3 separate regions of the Homo sapiens genome follow, and regions 1 and 3 are each linked to region 2. Evidence: promoter capture Hi-C in 16 types of primary human blood cells and fetal thymus (Javierre and others, 2016). All regions are on one chromosome and are shown on one strand. Each heading gives the region's core, a stretch centred on a gene start or on the middle of the fragment in contact. The rest is flanking DNA. Distances are from core to core; before and after follow the strand shown. Region 1 holds the start of ZNF354B (zinc finger protein 354B). Region 2 holds the start of ZNF454 (zinc finger protein 454). Region 3 holds the start of ZNF879 (zinc finger protein 879).

What was found. Contacts are between HindIII fragments. The CHiCAGO score rates a contact against its expected background, and 5 or more counts as called.
Region 1: a contact is called between the fragment with the promoter of ZNF354B here and the fragment with the promoter of ZNF454 in region 2, in 2 of 17 cell types (neutrophils and erythroblasts). The highest score is 6.2, in neutrophils.
Region 3: the fragment with the promoter of ZNF879 here is called in contact with the fragment with the promoter of ZNF454 in region 2 in 5 of 17 cell types (erythroblasts, neutrophils, monocytes and 2 more); the score reaches 9.1 in erythroblasts.

Annotation. Positions count from the first base shown.
Region 1 is chr5:178,858,582-178,863,034 of GRCh38, forward strand. It overlaps ZNF354B (zinc finger protein 354B), which reads left to right and starts at 1,372. Exons shown (of 5, transcript NM_058230.3): 1 at 1,372-1,546; 2 at 2,416-2,499. The coding sequence starts at 2,467. It overlaps LOC107986493 (a long non-coding RNA gene), which reads right to left. Exons shown (of 3, transcript XR_001743039.2): 3 at 4,144-4,452. RefSeq lists enhancers at 1,222-1,954, 1,239-1,438 and silencers at 1,579-1,778, 1,859-1,938. The HindIII fragment of the contact is 7,869 bases long and covers 1-4,453 here.
Region 2 is chr5:178,939,921-178,944,735 of GRCh38, forward strand. It overlaps ZNF454 (zinc finger protein 454), which reads left to right and starts at 1,278. Exons shown (of 5, transcript NM_001178089.3): 1 at 1,278-1,524; 2 at 2,765-2,904. The coding sequence starts at 2,872. ZNF454-DT (ZNF454 divergent transcript) reads right to left here and starts at 1,095. Exons shown (of 1, transcript NR_186409.1): 1 at 1-1,095. The HindIII fragment of the contact is 10,957 bases long and covers 1-3,348 here.
Region 3 is chr5:179,020,727-179,025,337 of GRCh38, forward strand. It overlaps ZNF879 (zinc finger protein 879), which reads left to right and starts at 3,078. Exons shown (of 5, transcript NM_001136116.3): 1 at 3,078-3,178; 2 at 4,244-4,311. The coding sequence starts at 4,279. RefSeq lists an enhancer at 2,706-3,207. The HindIII fragment of the contact is 13,349 bases long and covers 1-4,611 here.

The DNA of each region.
Region 1 (4,453 bases), core at 122-2,621, 81 kb before region 2:
TGTGTATATAAACACATTGTGGCCGGGCTCGGTGGCTCACGCCTGTAATCCGAGCACTTTGGGAGGCCGAGGAGGGTGGATCACGAGGTCAGAAGTTCAAGACCAGCCTGGTGAAGATGGTGAAACCCCATCTCTATTAAAACTACAAAAATTAGCTGGGCGTGGTCGCGGGTGCCTGTAATCCCTGCTACTTGGGAGACTGAGGCAGAGAACTGCTTGAACCTGGAAGGCGGAGGTGGCAGTGAGCCAAGATTGCGCCATTGCACTCCAGCCTGGGTGACAGAGCAAGACACCGTCCCAAACAAACAAACAAACAAAACATTTCCTTTATCTATTCATCCATCAACAGATAGTTGTTTCCATATCTTGGCCATGGTGAATAATGTTGCAGCTAACATGGGAGTGCAGGTATCTCACGGAGTTTCACTTCCTCTGGATCTATAGCCAGAAATGGGATTGGTGGATCCTAATGTAGCTCTAGTTATAATTTTTTGAGGAACCTCTATACCGTTTTCTGTAATGATTGTACCAATTTACATCCTTTTGATAGTGGCCATCCTAATGGAGGTGCAGTGATTTCTCATTGAGTTTGGGTTTATATTTCTCTTATACCTAGAGATGTTTACCATCTTTTTATATGCTTGTTGCTCATTGCTCATTTGTATATCTTCATTGGAGAATTGCCTATTCAAGTCCTTTGTCCATTTTAAAATCAGGTTATTTGGTTTTGTTATTGTTGTTGAGTTGTAAAAGTTCCATATAAATCCAGGATACATTGCAAATCAGATATATGATATGTAAGCATTTTCGTCTATTCTGTAGATTGCCTTTGTTTCCTTTGATTAGCCAAAGTTTTTAAGTTTGATGTAGTCCCATTTGTCTATTTTTGCTGTTATCTGTGCTTCTGATGTCATATTCAAGAAATCATTGCCATCTCCAACATCCTGAAGTTTTTTCCCTTTTTACTTTAGTAATTTATAAAATAATTTGGTCTCACATTTAGGTTTTTAATCAATTTTGAGTTAATTTTTATGTATGGTGTACGGTCAGGGTACAGGCTCATCTTTTGCACGTGGAAATCCAGCTTTGTCAACATCTTTTGCAGGGGATTTTCCTTTCCCAATTGTGTAGTAGTTGTTTTCGTGCCGCCCACGCCATCCTGAAATTCACACACAGAGTTGCAAGTTACTGCCCTCCGGGAACCTCCCCTTCTCTTCCGAAGAACCAGGAACCCGGGGCTCTACAGCTCACCCGGGCCCTCTCATAGGTCTGGGCGCCTAACAGCTCAGCTGCGACCTCGCCTCAAACGCGTGGAACTACACTTCCCAGAAAGCCAGCGTCCTCCCGTGGACTCCATTTCCTAGAGGCCTTAGCGGCCGCCTTGCTCCTCTAGGTCCCAGGCGCTCTGCGGAGCTTTCGCTGCCCGGTGAGCGGCGCCGGGCTTGAGGTCGCCCAGACGTCGGAGGAGCCGGGTCACGAGGCTGGAGCTTCCTGCTTGCAGAGTGCGGCGGGGAGGCGCGGCCCGGGAACGCGGGATCCTGGGGAGGTGAGCGGCATGGCTGGCTGTGCCGGGAGGAGGCGGCGCCTGGCGCCAGGGCGACCTGAGGCCGCGGGGCTCCGAGGGCCTCTGTGGGCGCGGGGGGGCACCCCCGCGTCTGTCACCGGCCCCCGCGCCAGGACTTGGACTCTCGCCCCTCACGGGCCGCTCCGGTGCCGCTGCCGACGCCCCTGCCTCTGGCTCGCGCCGCCCGCCGTGAACGCGGGGCCAGGCGTTTCCTCCCGGGCCCACCCTGCGCGCGCCGTGTGGGCCTCGCGGACTCGGGGCGCCGGGACCCCGAGCGCAGGGCAGAGGCAGCCGGGCCCGGTTTCTGAGTCAGTCCCCAGGACGGCCACTCCTCCTGCCTCGGGACACCCAGCGCTTTCCTCTTCAAAGCCGTTTTCCGTGGAGTCGGGAGACGATTCGTTGGCGGGAGAGAGAGGAACCGGCTGGGAAAGGCTTGAGGCGGAGGGAAGTCGTCCCGGGGCCGTCGTGGTGGGAGTCCCGGCCCGCCTCGCAGCGGCGTGAACGGGGCAGGTGCCCCGGCGCTGCCTCAGTTTCCTGAGCGGTGCAGTGGGTGCTGGCAGTGCCAGCTGGCGCCGAGGAACTCAGCGGCGTGGGGCGAGCCCTGGCCCTGGTGGGCTCAGCGGGTCGCTGCTGCCACTGCGGGTCCAGCGTCCCCTCCGTAAGCCCCAAGCCTGTGGGGCCTGGGCCTGGCCGGGCGGCCCAGCGCTGCTCTGGTCCGCGGGCTCCTGGCTCCTCCCGAATCCCTGTGAGGGCGCGCGGGGTCCTTCTCAGCGGGAGTCGGGGTTTTAGAGCTGCGGATTCCAGGGCTGGAAAGCAGAAGGGGTTCTTCCTGGCTCCCTTTTTCTTCTCAGATCTGCCTTCTGGAGACTGCGCCGTCCTCCCGGGAGAGCCAGAAAGAGGACATGGCTGCTGGGCAGCGGGAAGCGAGGCCCCAGGTGAGCTCATTGCCCTCCCAGATCCCAGTGGATGGATTTTCCCCACTAACTGGAGTTCTTCACCCGGGACCATCTCCAGCCAGGATGGAGCCCAAGTCCTTTTCTCTTGGAGGAGCTGGTCCGCCCTCATGACTGGTGGATTCTGTAGGGAGGACCACCCACCCTCCCCACCCGTGTCTAGTGGTTTTTAATTAACAGTTTGTTCACGAATCTTCATCCATTGTGTGACTAGTTTGACAAGTAAGATACCACAAGTCTGTCTGTCACTAAGAGCAAACGTACACACGTGGGAAAAATCCCTGCCTCCTCCACTCACCCATGTCTCCGTTCCTGTCCTTCGCAGGAATACTTTCTCTTTTCACCCCTGAGAATCCTCATAACACCACCCCTTCCCCAGGCTTCTCCAACGCATCGTTGTTAGTTTTTTGTCCCTCTTAACTTTGTGAATCATATTCTTTGCTTGTATCACTGTCTTGAAATCTATTGTAGACCGTTTTCATTTTTGTGTAGTGGGAATGAGGAGGCCACCCTTTCTAGTTGAGACGAGAGTGAACAGAGTTGGAGAGGTCGCTTGACTCGCAGGACACAGAAGACCCCTCAGCTAGCGGCAGGAAGGGTTTCATGGGATAGCAATAGTGCAGAGGCAGCGTAGGTGGTAGTTAGGAAGTAGGGCTGTTAAGCCAGATGGCAGCGTTTTAACCCATCTCCTCTGTTGCTGTTTGTGGGCCTTGGGCTTCACCTCTCTGTGCCTCAGTTTTCTCACCTGTAAAATGGGAATAACAGCCGTGCCCACCTCCCAGCGTAGATGAAGGGATCACATGAGTTAGTGTGTGGAAAGTGTTCGGATCAGGGCTGGGCACTGAGTAGTTACTGCTCAGCATATGGTGGTTGTGTTTGCTGAGTGACATTATTGTCTTAATATATTAATGTTAATGTTGGTAGATAGAAACTGCTGTACAATGTGTTTAGGACCCAGACGATGTTATCCTTTATTCATTTTTTTATCTAACAATACTAATGTCCACCGAGTGTCTAGCATACCAGGGAATGGGCTGAGGGCTTTACATTTGTTCTCTCACTCGCACAGTAGCACAACAATTACAATTCTTGTTTTACATGTGAGGAAACTGAGGCTCAGAAAAGTTAAGTAACCTGAGTACAGTCCAAGTATGCCTGGCTCTGAGTTCCGTCGGACCACCCAGTCGTCCCTGTGGTGCGTCTTTCAGAGTATGGGCAGATGCAGCCACGCGATACCAGAGTGCTTCTGCAGCGTGGCATTATCTTTTTTTTTTTTTTTTTTTTTTGAGAGGCAGTCTTGCTCTGTCACCCAGGCTGGAGTGCAGTGGCGCGATCTCGGCTCACTGCAACCTCCGCCTCCCTGGTTCAAGCAATTCCCCTGCCTCAGCCTCCTGAGTAGCTAGGACTACAGGCATGTGCCACCACGCCCGGCTAATTTTTTTTTGTATTTTAGTAGAGACGGGGTTTCACCATGTTGGCCAGGATGGCCTCAATCTCCTGACCTCGTGATCCACCAGCCACAGCCTCCCGGAGTGCTGGGATTAAAGGTGTGAGCCGCCGCGCCTGGCGGCGTTATCTTTTAAACTAGCCAAGACAGTGGAGTGGGAGCTGAGGGTGTGGCCAGAACAGGCTATTGTGCATTTGAGCTGGTATTTGTCCTCGAAGGCATTCCTATTCCATTCTCACAGAGCCAAGCTGCTCTCCTGACTAGAACCTTCTCCATCCCTGTGTGTGGGTGAGTCTCTGTGGCATCCTTCCTGTCTGTTCTTGCTTGCCATGCGTCAGTAATGTGTAGACCTGTGTGTAAAATTCAGTGAAGGGAATTTTAAGACCAGAGAGTGCAGAGTTCACAATTAGAAAACCGGAGTTATGATCTTGCTGCTACCTCTAGCAAAGCACATGACCTGGGATCTTGGCTGCCCTGGACCTTGTGTTC
Region 2 (4,815 bases), core at 28-2,527:
CTCCATGAGTGCAGGGTTTTCACAGCTATTTCTCCAGCCCCTGGACTCGGGGTTCTTACTCTCTGGAGCCCAGTTTGAGTGACCTGGAGTCACGAGGGAGGCGAGAGAGAAGGGTTACCAGCGATACTCACACAACATCCTCCCCCTCTGGTGCTTTGCCGGGTCCCTGGGAACTGCTACAGGGGCTGCACAGCGGCTGACCCTGGCCTTGTCAAGCACTTGACACATAAGTGCTCCAAAGTGTCTATGGAATGAAATCTTCAATAAAACTCCAAACAGAATGCTGTAGTCACTGACACTGCTTCCTAAAACGTGGCCAACAATTCCGTATGTGACAAACAGGTCACATTCTTGATTTTTTTTAACGACCAACAAAGTTAAAACCCTCTCATCTTTCCTTCCTGAGCTCCATGCAAATTACCTATTCAAAAGCAACTAAGTATCTCCAGTTGGATATTCTTAGGCATCATCTCATCCTTGCCAGTCTCTGCAAAATATGGTCGACAAAAATAAATACCACCTTCTTAAATACCACCCAGCTGTCCAAGATGGAGACTTCCTGGCATCCAGGCGCCTTCCTCTCCCTCGTCCCCACCTCTGAGAAGTTCCCAAGCACGAAGTGTTCTGCGTCCCGAACATTCCAGGGGCCGCCAGCCACCATGGGCTCTGTCCTGAGGTGCCAAGCAGGACATCCCTGCCCGACATCCTTGTCCTCCCGCACCGCACACGCGTTAGTGGCTGTGGCGTCGCCACCCCAGCACACGCTGGCCCGCCCGCAGTGCCAGGCTGGAAGTGTCGGGCGCTTGCCAGGCCAAGGGGCAATTCTGTTGCCTTCCAGGCCTTTTCGGCGCGGTCCCAGTCAGGAACGCGCCCTGTCGCCTCCCACTCCGTCTTCCGGACCCTCCCGATCCTCTCTCGTCAGCGATCGGGCGTCGCTCCCCTGGACTAACCTCCCTTGCCCCATCTTCAGCTTTTCGCTGATCTGCATCTTCCTGCGCCTTAGTGCAAGGCAGAGACCTGGTTCTAAAGCGAACGGAACGGAACCGATTCTGTAAGTTGCAATGAGCGCGCTGAGGTCGGCGTGGAGGGGTCTCTGGGAAAGGTAGTTTCCGCGCCTAAAGCGCCGGGGCCGGGCCCTGTTCCCGCAGGCGCAAGGCAGCACTGTCTCCGCCGATTGTCCCTCTGGGAAGTGGAGTCTGGCCGGCGGAACTGCAGCAGCCCTGAGACTTGTGGGAATTCGGCCCAAGGGTTCCCAGGGCAACGCGCAAGCGCAGTTCGGCTCCCGGCTGCAGACTCCAGCTCATTGTGTTCTGACTGCGATGTGGCGCTTGCGATCTCTCGCCGCCGGCAGAGGCTCCTCGAAGAGCGACACGGGGCTGACCAGGCACGGTGGTCAAAGCCGCAGAGGGAGAGCGGGAGCGGTCGTGAGGTCGTCTGGGGAGAAGGGCGGAGGCAAAGCCGAGGAGGTGCGGGTTGTGGTCCATTCTGGAGGACGCTGATCGAATGCCCCAAACTTCCCGGAATGTATGTCTGAGATTTGATCCCAGAGAGGGAGGACGGCCAGGGGTGGTCATCCTGGGCTGAGGGTCGAGTCTGTGAGTGCCTGTGGAGGAGATGGAGCCAGGGCCTCTGGCATGTGTCTTGGAGCGGACTCCGAGAAGCCCAGGGTTTCCTCTCAGGTGATAGATACACGCCTGGCGTGGTTCCGAGTCCTGCGCCAGGAACTCGCCAAGGCCGGAGGCAGCCGCTGCGCAGCCCCTGCCACAGCCCCCGAGGGACCTGGCGAAGCGGCAGGGGCGGGACGGGGCTGTGTGTGATTAGGGTTCCTAACCCTTCCCTCTCCCCTCCCGCCCAGCTCACACAAACGCCGCTTCTGCCCACCCGTGACTCCAGGCCACCCAGACTGGGCCCCAGAGAGTGAGAACACTGAGGCCAGAGAAGGGTTTGCCTGAGAGGCTTCGACAGTGAAGAGCCTTCTTAGCCTCCTTTCTGAGGAGGAAGAAGACCACCCTCCTTTTCCTCTTCTCCTGTCACTGCCAGATAAGGCAGCTGTTCCAAAGCCGCAGAGGGAGAGCGGAGCGGTCTTCCAATCCAGTCGAACCCAGACACTGCCCTCCGTTGCCTCTCCCCAGCGCTCCCACCTTTTCGGGTACATCCTGGTGGGTTCTGGAGCTGAATAACTTGTTAAAGAGATAATTCTCGGCCGAGTGCGGCGGCTCACGCCTGTAATCCCAGTACTTTGGGAGGCCGAGGCGAGCCGATCACCTGAGGTCCGGAGTTCGAGACCAGTCCGACCAACATGGTGAAATCCCGGTCTCTACTAAAAATATAAAAAATTAGCCGGGCGTGGTGGCGGGTGCGTGTAATCCCAGCTACTCCGGAGACTGGGGCGGGAGAATCGCTTGAACCCGGAAGGCGGAGGTTGCAGTGAGCCAAGATCGTGCCACTGCACTCCAGCCTAGGTGACAGAGCGAGACTCTGTCTCAAACAAACAAACAAAAAAAGAATTCTCTTGAGATCGCTCAGTGAGGCTGAAGGGAAAGACCAGAGGGTGGGTGGAAGGCATGAGAACTGGACCTGGAGCAGGCTTTCTGCAGGGAAAAGTCAATGTATAGTACCCTCAGAAGGAGGAGAGAGAATGGGGAGCAAACAGGAACCAAAACACTCACTGCTTGGGGTACTGGAGGCCTCCCAGGATGTGAATGCTCACTGCCTCGCTCTGGACTGCTGTATGAGAGCTTTTGACCCAGTTCTCTCCTAATAGCAGGTGTGTGGACCCTTCTAGCCTGAGGAGTCCTGCAGGTGTGAAGCTCCACACCTGCCTCCATAGCACTTTGCCTGTCCCTAAGAGGGCTCATCGGAGAAGAAAGAATGGCTGTCAGCCACCTGCCAACCATGGTCCAGGTGAGTGGGGGTTTCTTCCCCCTAAATTGCTTTCTGGATTTGAAGAGTGTGGCATGTTTGCTTCCTCAGACCGGGAGCTTTATTCCCAATCCAGTCCCACCCAGACACTGACCTCAGTTGCCTCTCCCCAACCAACACCCTCCAACCCCGCCCCATATCCGGCTCATCCTGGTGGGTGTTGCAGCTGTATAACTTGCTAAAGGTCACATAAATGTCACAGCTGGGACTGGAACCCAGGTCCCTGTGAAATCAAAACCTGTACTCTTTTCACTAGCAAGTAAGATTAGGGATCTGAAGTGGTAAAAGCATGTATTAGTCCCTTTTTACATTGCTCTAAATAAATATCTGAGGCTGGGGAATTGATAAGAAGTTTAATTGGCCCACGGTTCTGTAGGCTGTACAGGAAGCATGGTGTCAGCATCCACTTCTGATGAGGACTTTAAAAGCTTCCAATCATGGCAGAAGGTGAAGGGGGAGCAGGTGTATCACACGGTGAGAAAGGGAGCAAGAGAGAGAAGTGGGAGGTCCTAGACTCTTAAACAACTGGATCTCACGTGAACCAACTGAGCGAGAATTCACTCATCACCAAGAGGATGGCACTAAGCCATTCACGAGGGATCTACCCCCATGATCCAACACCTCCCACCAGGCCCCCCCTCCAACATTGGAGGTCACATTTCAACAGGAGAGTTGGAAGGGACATACATCCAAACTATATCAGGGCAGTATCTCACACAGAGCTCAAAGAAGGGCATTGTAGGAACACTTTTCTGGGGAGGTGTGATTTACTAGACTCTTTTTCTTTTATGACATTTGGTTTTTTTACCAATGAAATTATTCAAAAGACTATTCTGCCAAAAAGTCCTATAAATTCCTAAAACGCTTTGAGCAGTCCTAGCATCTTTAGAATAAGAATATGGGCCAGACGCGGTGGCTCACGCCTGTAATCCCAGCACTTTGGGAGGCCAAGGCCAGCGGATCACGAGGTCAGGAGATCGAGACCATCCTGGCTAACACAGTGAAACCCCGTCTCTACTAAAATTACAAAAAAAATTAGCTGGGCGTGGTGGTGGGCGCCTGTAGTCCCAGCTACTCGGGAGGCTGAGGCAGGAGAATGGCGTGAACCCAGGAGGCGGAGCTTGCAGTGAGCCAAGATTGTGCCAGTGCACTCCAGCCTGAGTGACAGAGCGAGACTCCATCTCAAAAATAAAAAATAAAAAAGAATATGGACTGTGCTTTGAAGGAGACAGCATTCATTTGGGCATATACATTCTGATACATTTGGTTAAATTGTTCTAATTCCTTCACATTTAAACCTCCCCAAGGACTGGGATGTGTGGCAGGAATCACTGGAAAGGATGACCAGCTAGGTGGGAGCGCCATGTTCAACATAGCACAGCTCACCGGCTGTTCCCCTCCTCCTCTTGGCTTCTGACTTGTCACTTAGGACCCTTCTCATGCACCACTTTTTCTGCAAAACCTGTCCGCACCCACAGTGCCAGTCTACTGTGATATTTTCCTTCCTTAACCTTTTCCTCAAAGTCACTGTCGGTGTCATACAATTTATCTTGTGTTTATAGGCTGCCTTGATTTGGTTGCCATTCAGCAGACATATGTTAGGGCTGTAAAATGTGCCAGGAATTATGATCTGGGCTACAAATACAAAGTGAACGATAAATGGGCCCTGACAAATTGGTTCATGGCTTCCATCCAAGTGTTTCTTGACTGCCTGTCATGGGCCAAGTCTCTGGGTGCAGGTAACGGAAACCTAATTCAGACTGCCTCAGGCAGAAGCAGGCACTGACTGGAAAGATATGGAGGTGTTCCCCCAAATGCAAAGGCAAAGACACAGCTAGATGTTGACTGTGGAAGTGGGATCTACAATAACCTGAGAGTCCTTTCTCTTGGACC
Region 3 (4,611 bases), core at 1,828-4,327, 83 kb after region 2:
GGTTTCACTGTGTTAGCCAGGATGGTCTCGATCTCCTGACCTCGAGATCTGCCCACCTCGGCCTCCCAAACTGCTGGTATTACAGGCGTGAGCCACCGCACCCGGCCTTTTTTTTTTGGGGGGGGGGGGACAGGTCTCCCTGTGTGGCCCAGGCTGGAGTGCAGTCGTGAAATTTCGGCTCACTGCTATCTCTGCCTCCCTGGCTCAAGTGATTCACCCACCTCAGCACCCCACCCCAACCCCTAGTAGCTGGGACCATAGGCGTGCGCCACGATGCCCGGCTAATTTTGTTTTTGTGGTTTTTTTTTTTTTGGAGGGGGGTGGGGAGACATGGAGTTTCACTACGTTGCCCAGACTGGTCTCGCGCTCCCGAGCTCAAGCCATCTGCCCACTTTGGCCTCTGAAAGTGTTGGGACTACAGGTGTGAGCCACTGCGCCCGGCGGGATTCTTCTTTTTTTAAATGAGTTACATTCATTACTAATTCTAGCAGAGATACTCTATGAATTGGAATCTATGTAAATACATTCATCCTCCAAATGCCTTTGCTTCACTCACAATCCAATGCAAGATTGGAAGGTTATAGTATTCTACAGAATCTATAGTACTCTATTTAAATTCCAAATCATTTTCTGTTTGAAATCTGAGGACATTGCTCCACACCATCTTCTAGAACCCGTGTTGCTGAGAAGCCTGATGTCAGCTGCACTTTCTTTGGTTCGTCTAGAGTAGTGGACTTTCTTGGTTACCTAATATCCTCTCGCCTTCCTAATTCTCAACAGAACCTAGATTTTGTTTACATATCCACATCACATCCAGCTCCTGAGGATCAGGGTGGAGAAAAGGAAGAAACGTGTTTGTTTGTTTTTTTCTGAGAGTGTCGCTCTGTCCCCCAGGCTGGAGTGCAGTGGCGCGATCTCAGCTCACTGCAACCTCCGCCTCCCGGGTTCAAGCAACTGCCCTGCCTCAGCCTCCCAAATAGCTGGGATTACAGGCTTGAGCCACCACCCCCGGCCAAAACCTGGTTTTTGCTGACATCATAGAACCACCGATTCTTCTCTAGCCGGAGTCTGCCCCAGTGATTTCTTGCTATTCCTTATTCATTTCAGCCAACTTGAGCAGTTCCATCTTCTGTGACTTGTAGCAAATAACACATGCCAACCTTTTATTCCGTCTTTTCTGGCCACTTTTAGGGGTTCCTATTTATCCTCAGAGTTGTGATATTTCATCGAGGATGTATTTTTTATGGGCCATCCCTACCCTAGCTCATTCATTATGCCAAACTCCCTACATTTTATTTACTCTGAAGACTCAGGGCTTCCTCAGCTTGAATGTGTTTTCTGCTATATCTCTATCACTATTTCTGTATGTAATCAATCTGTTATTATTCCCCCTCCCCATTTTCTCTGCTTTCTTCTGAATCTTTTTATTAGATTTTGGGTATCAGAGCACTTGTCTCCTGCATGTCTTCCAAATGTTTCCTCAATTTCTGGTGTTCTGATGGTATTTTTCTAGAGTTGCATTAGATTTGCTCCTTTGAAAATTATATGTGTTTGGGGTTACTTTGAAGAATATGAAGAGAAAAAGGGAGGTAATCATGGGTACTCAGTCTGGCACCTTTTACTTTGTAAATCTCAATGCTATGTTGTTTTGTCAATAATGGTCTATAACTGTCATATCTTTATTATTATTATTTTAAAATAATAATTAAATATAGAAATAACATATGGTCCAGAAATGGAATTGCCCATGTGTTAATTCTACATTTAATTTTTTTTTGAGGAACTGCCATACCGTTTTCCAGCGCAGCGCTACCATTTTACATTCCCACCATTAAGGCACAAGGATTGTTTTCTGGTTTTCTTTTTTTTCCAAATTTTATAATAGCCAACCTAATGAGTGTGAAATCGCAGTGGATGTTTGATCTGCTTTGATCTGCATTCCCCTAATGATTAGTGATGTGCATTATTATCTTTTAACAATATAAAACATCCATTTTGTTCGATTTAATTATTTTTACATTGCAATAATCTTTGTATTGTTGTAACATCGTGATCCAAGATTTCTTTTTCATATTATCTACCTGATATCTCTTAGTCCCTCTCTGCATTTTCTATCTTCAAGTACCCTTTGTGTTTAGGTTTGTCTCTGTAAACGCTAATGTTTGATATTTTAAAAATCAACACTTTCTGAGCACATAGTATTTGGCGTGTACAGTGCCGGTCACCGAGGATGCAGTTGTGATGATAGCGCTGGGAGTTGGGCTTTATTTTACGTTTTAAAGAAGTCACTTCAAAAGAAGTGAGTGCCATGAAGAGGGAAATACTAGGCTTATGCTTTTGTTTTACTCTGAGTGCCAGTAAATATGTAAAGATTACAAAAATTTATTTATTTATTTATTTATTTATTTGAGACAGAGTCTTGCTCTGTCACCCAGGCTGGAGTGCAATGGCGCGATCTGAGCTCACCGCAACCTTCGCCTCCCAGGTTCAAGCGATTCTCCTGCCTCAGCCTCCCGAATAGCTGGGATTACAGGCATGTGCCACCACGCCCGACTAATTTTTCGTGTTTTCGTAGAGACAGGGTTGCACCATGTTGGCCAAGATGGTCTCGGTCTCCTGACCTTGTGATCCGCCCACCTCGGCCTCCCAAAGTGCTGCGATTACAGGCATAAGCCACCGCGCCCGGCCGAGATTATAAAATTTAGACATAATTCATTTTTAATTAAAATCGCAGAATGGACTGTAATAGTTCTGTCACCACCTGCGAATAATCAGCAGCGGCTAGTCTTCCAGATTTAAAAATTCATACTCACTTTTCCGTCTTACTATTTTTGTCATTCTAATTACGAATACAATGGGTGGTTTAGCGGAGGGAGAGTAGTTGGAGCCCAAGCTGAGGGACTCGGCTTCAGCCTTCTCGAACTCCACAGCCCGACCGCGTTCTCCGCTCTCGGCGCTGTGGTTCTCTCTCGGACACCGTAAGTGGTGGTGCCGCAGCGACGTCTGGGAAATGAAGTCCGGAGGGACAAACGCTGCGGTTCAGCCAGGGAAACCCGTCGGCTCTCCGGCGCGCAGGCGCAGTTGCGCCCGGCAGCGACGGGAAACGTCTCTGAATTAGGTGTTCCGCTCGCCTCTTGTGCGGTGTGGAGCTGCGCGCCCCCCGCCGAGGCGGGCCCAGGTACAGGCTGCCGGTGAGGGCGGGCCCGGGGCGTGCGGCTGCCGCGGCGGGACCAGGACGAGGGCTGGCCTCTGCGCGTGTCTGCCGAGTCCCCGGCTCCGGGCGTCCGAGCCGGGGCGGCCTCGGCAGGTGAACCCGGCCCCGGAGGGGGCGTGGCCTGGGAAGGGCCTGGCGGAGGCCGGGAGGGCGCTTCGACGCCGCTGGACTCCTGGGCCGCAGCCTGGGCCGGACTCCGGGGGAAACGGCTCCAGAACAGAAACTGCAAAATGCCGCCTCGGTTCAGGGTCCGGAGCCCTCCGGGCGGTTTTTCGCTCTTAGTGTTTGTGGGTTTAAGCCTCCCCCTACTCCGTTTCCCGGAGTTTAAACTTTAGATTTACTCGTTTTTGGCAGTCTTGCACGTTTGGCAGTGTTTTCCTACAGCCAGTCCTAGAGTGATTTAACTATTTCTTTTTTTATTTACCGTAACCATGTCCACTTGCTACGTTTCTTCCCATTTCTCTAAATTTTAAATCAATTTCTAGCTAGTGATGCTGTTTTCTTGCGCCCTTGTTTTTTTGGGGCCAGGGAGAATGGGTAACGCTACCTTTAAGCAGCTTTGATAACTGTTTTTGATAAAGGAAGTAAATCTTACAAGAGGAAGAAAAGAGGACTAATTTTTGGTTGGCTGTTCCTAAAAAAGAGCATCAGTTCTTCAACTGCTGTTTTTCGTATTGAACAACATCCAAGTGCAGATGTGTGGAATATTGTGTCATTTCCTATTACTTTATCTGAATGAGCCTTGCCTGATTCTGCCCTTGACCCTGTTAAGGCACGGCAGATGGTCTTCATCCCTTCGCTCCTTTCGTCTTTATCGTAAAGCACTGGCAGAAAGGTAGCAGGCCCGGTGACTCTGAACCTGCTTCCCACACTGGTTTAAGTGGCCGGACTTAGGGCCCCTCTGGCCTGGGCAGTTCCAGGCTCCTTCTCTGCAGGTGCTCAGCTTATGGCTTCTAACCTGGTCTGGCCTAATGAGGGTGGGCATGCAGGCTGGATGAAAAGACCTCACAGCTTTTTTCTCCATTCCAGGTGCCTTCTCCAAGAGAGGCAGCAGGGAGGGAGAAATGGCAAGGAGGTTGCTGCCAGCCCATGTACAGGTGAGTGAAGGCTTCTTTTTGCTTGAACTGCCTTCAGGGTCTAGACGTGGTAAACTTCTTCATCTGTTGTTGAGCTTCTCTACCCAGTGAAGCTCAGGGAAGGACCAGAGGGCTTGGTAGCTGAGAAACTCTGGAAGGAAGGTGTTTCCCTTGCCTCAGAGCCTGTCTCATGCTTTTTTTTTTTTTTCTTTCCCTTTTTTGAGACAGGGTCTCACTCTGTTACCCAGGCTGGAGTGCAGTGGCACGGACATGGCTCACTGCAGCCTCAACCTCCCTGGTAGCTGGGACTACAGGCATGTG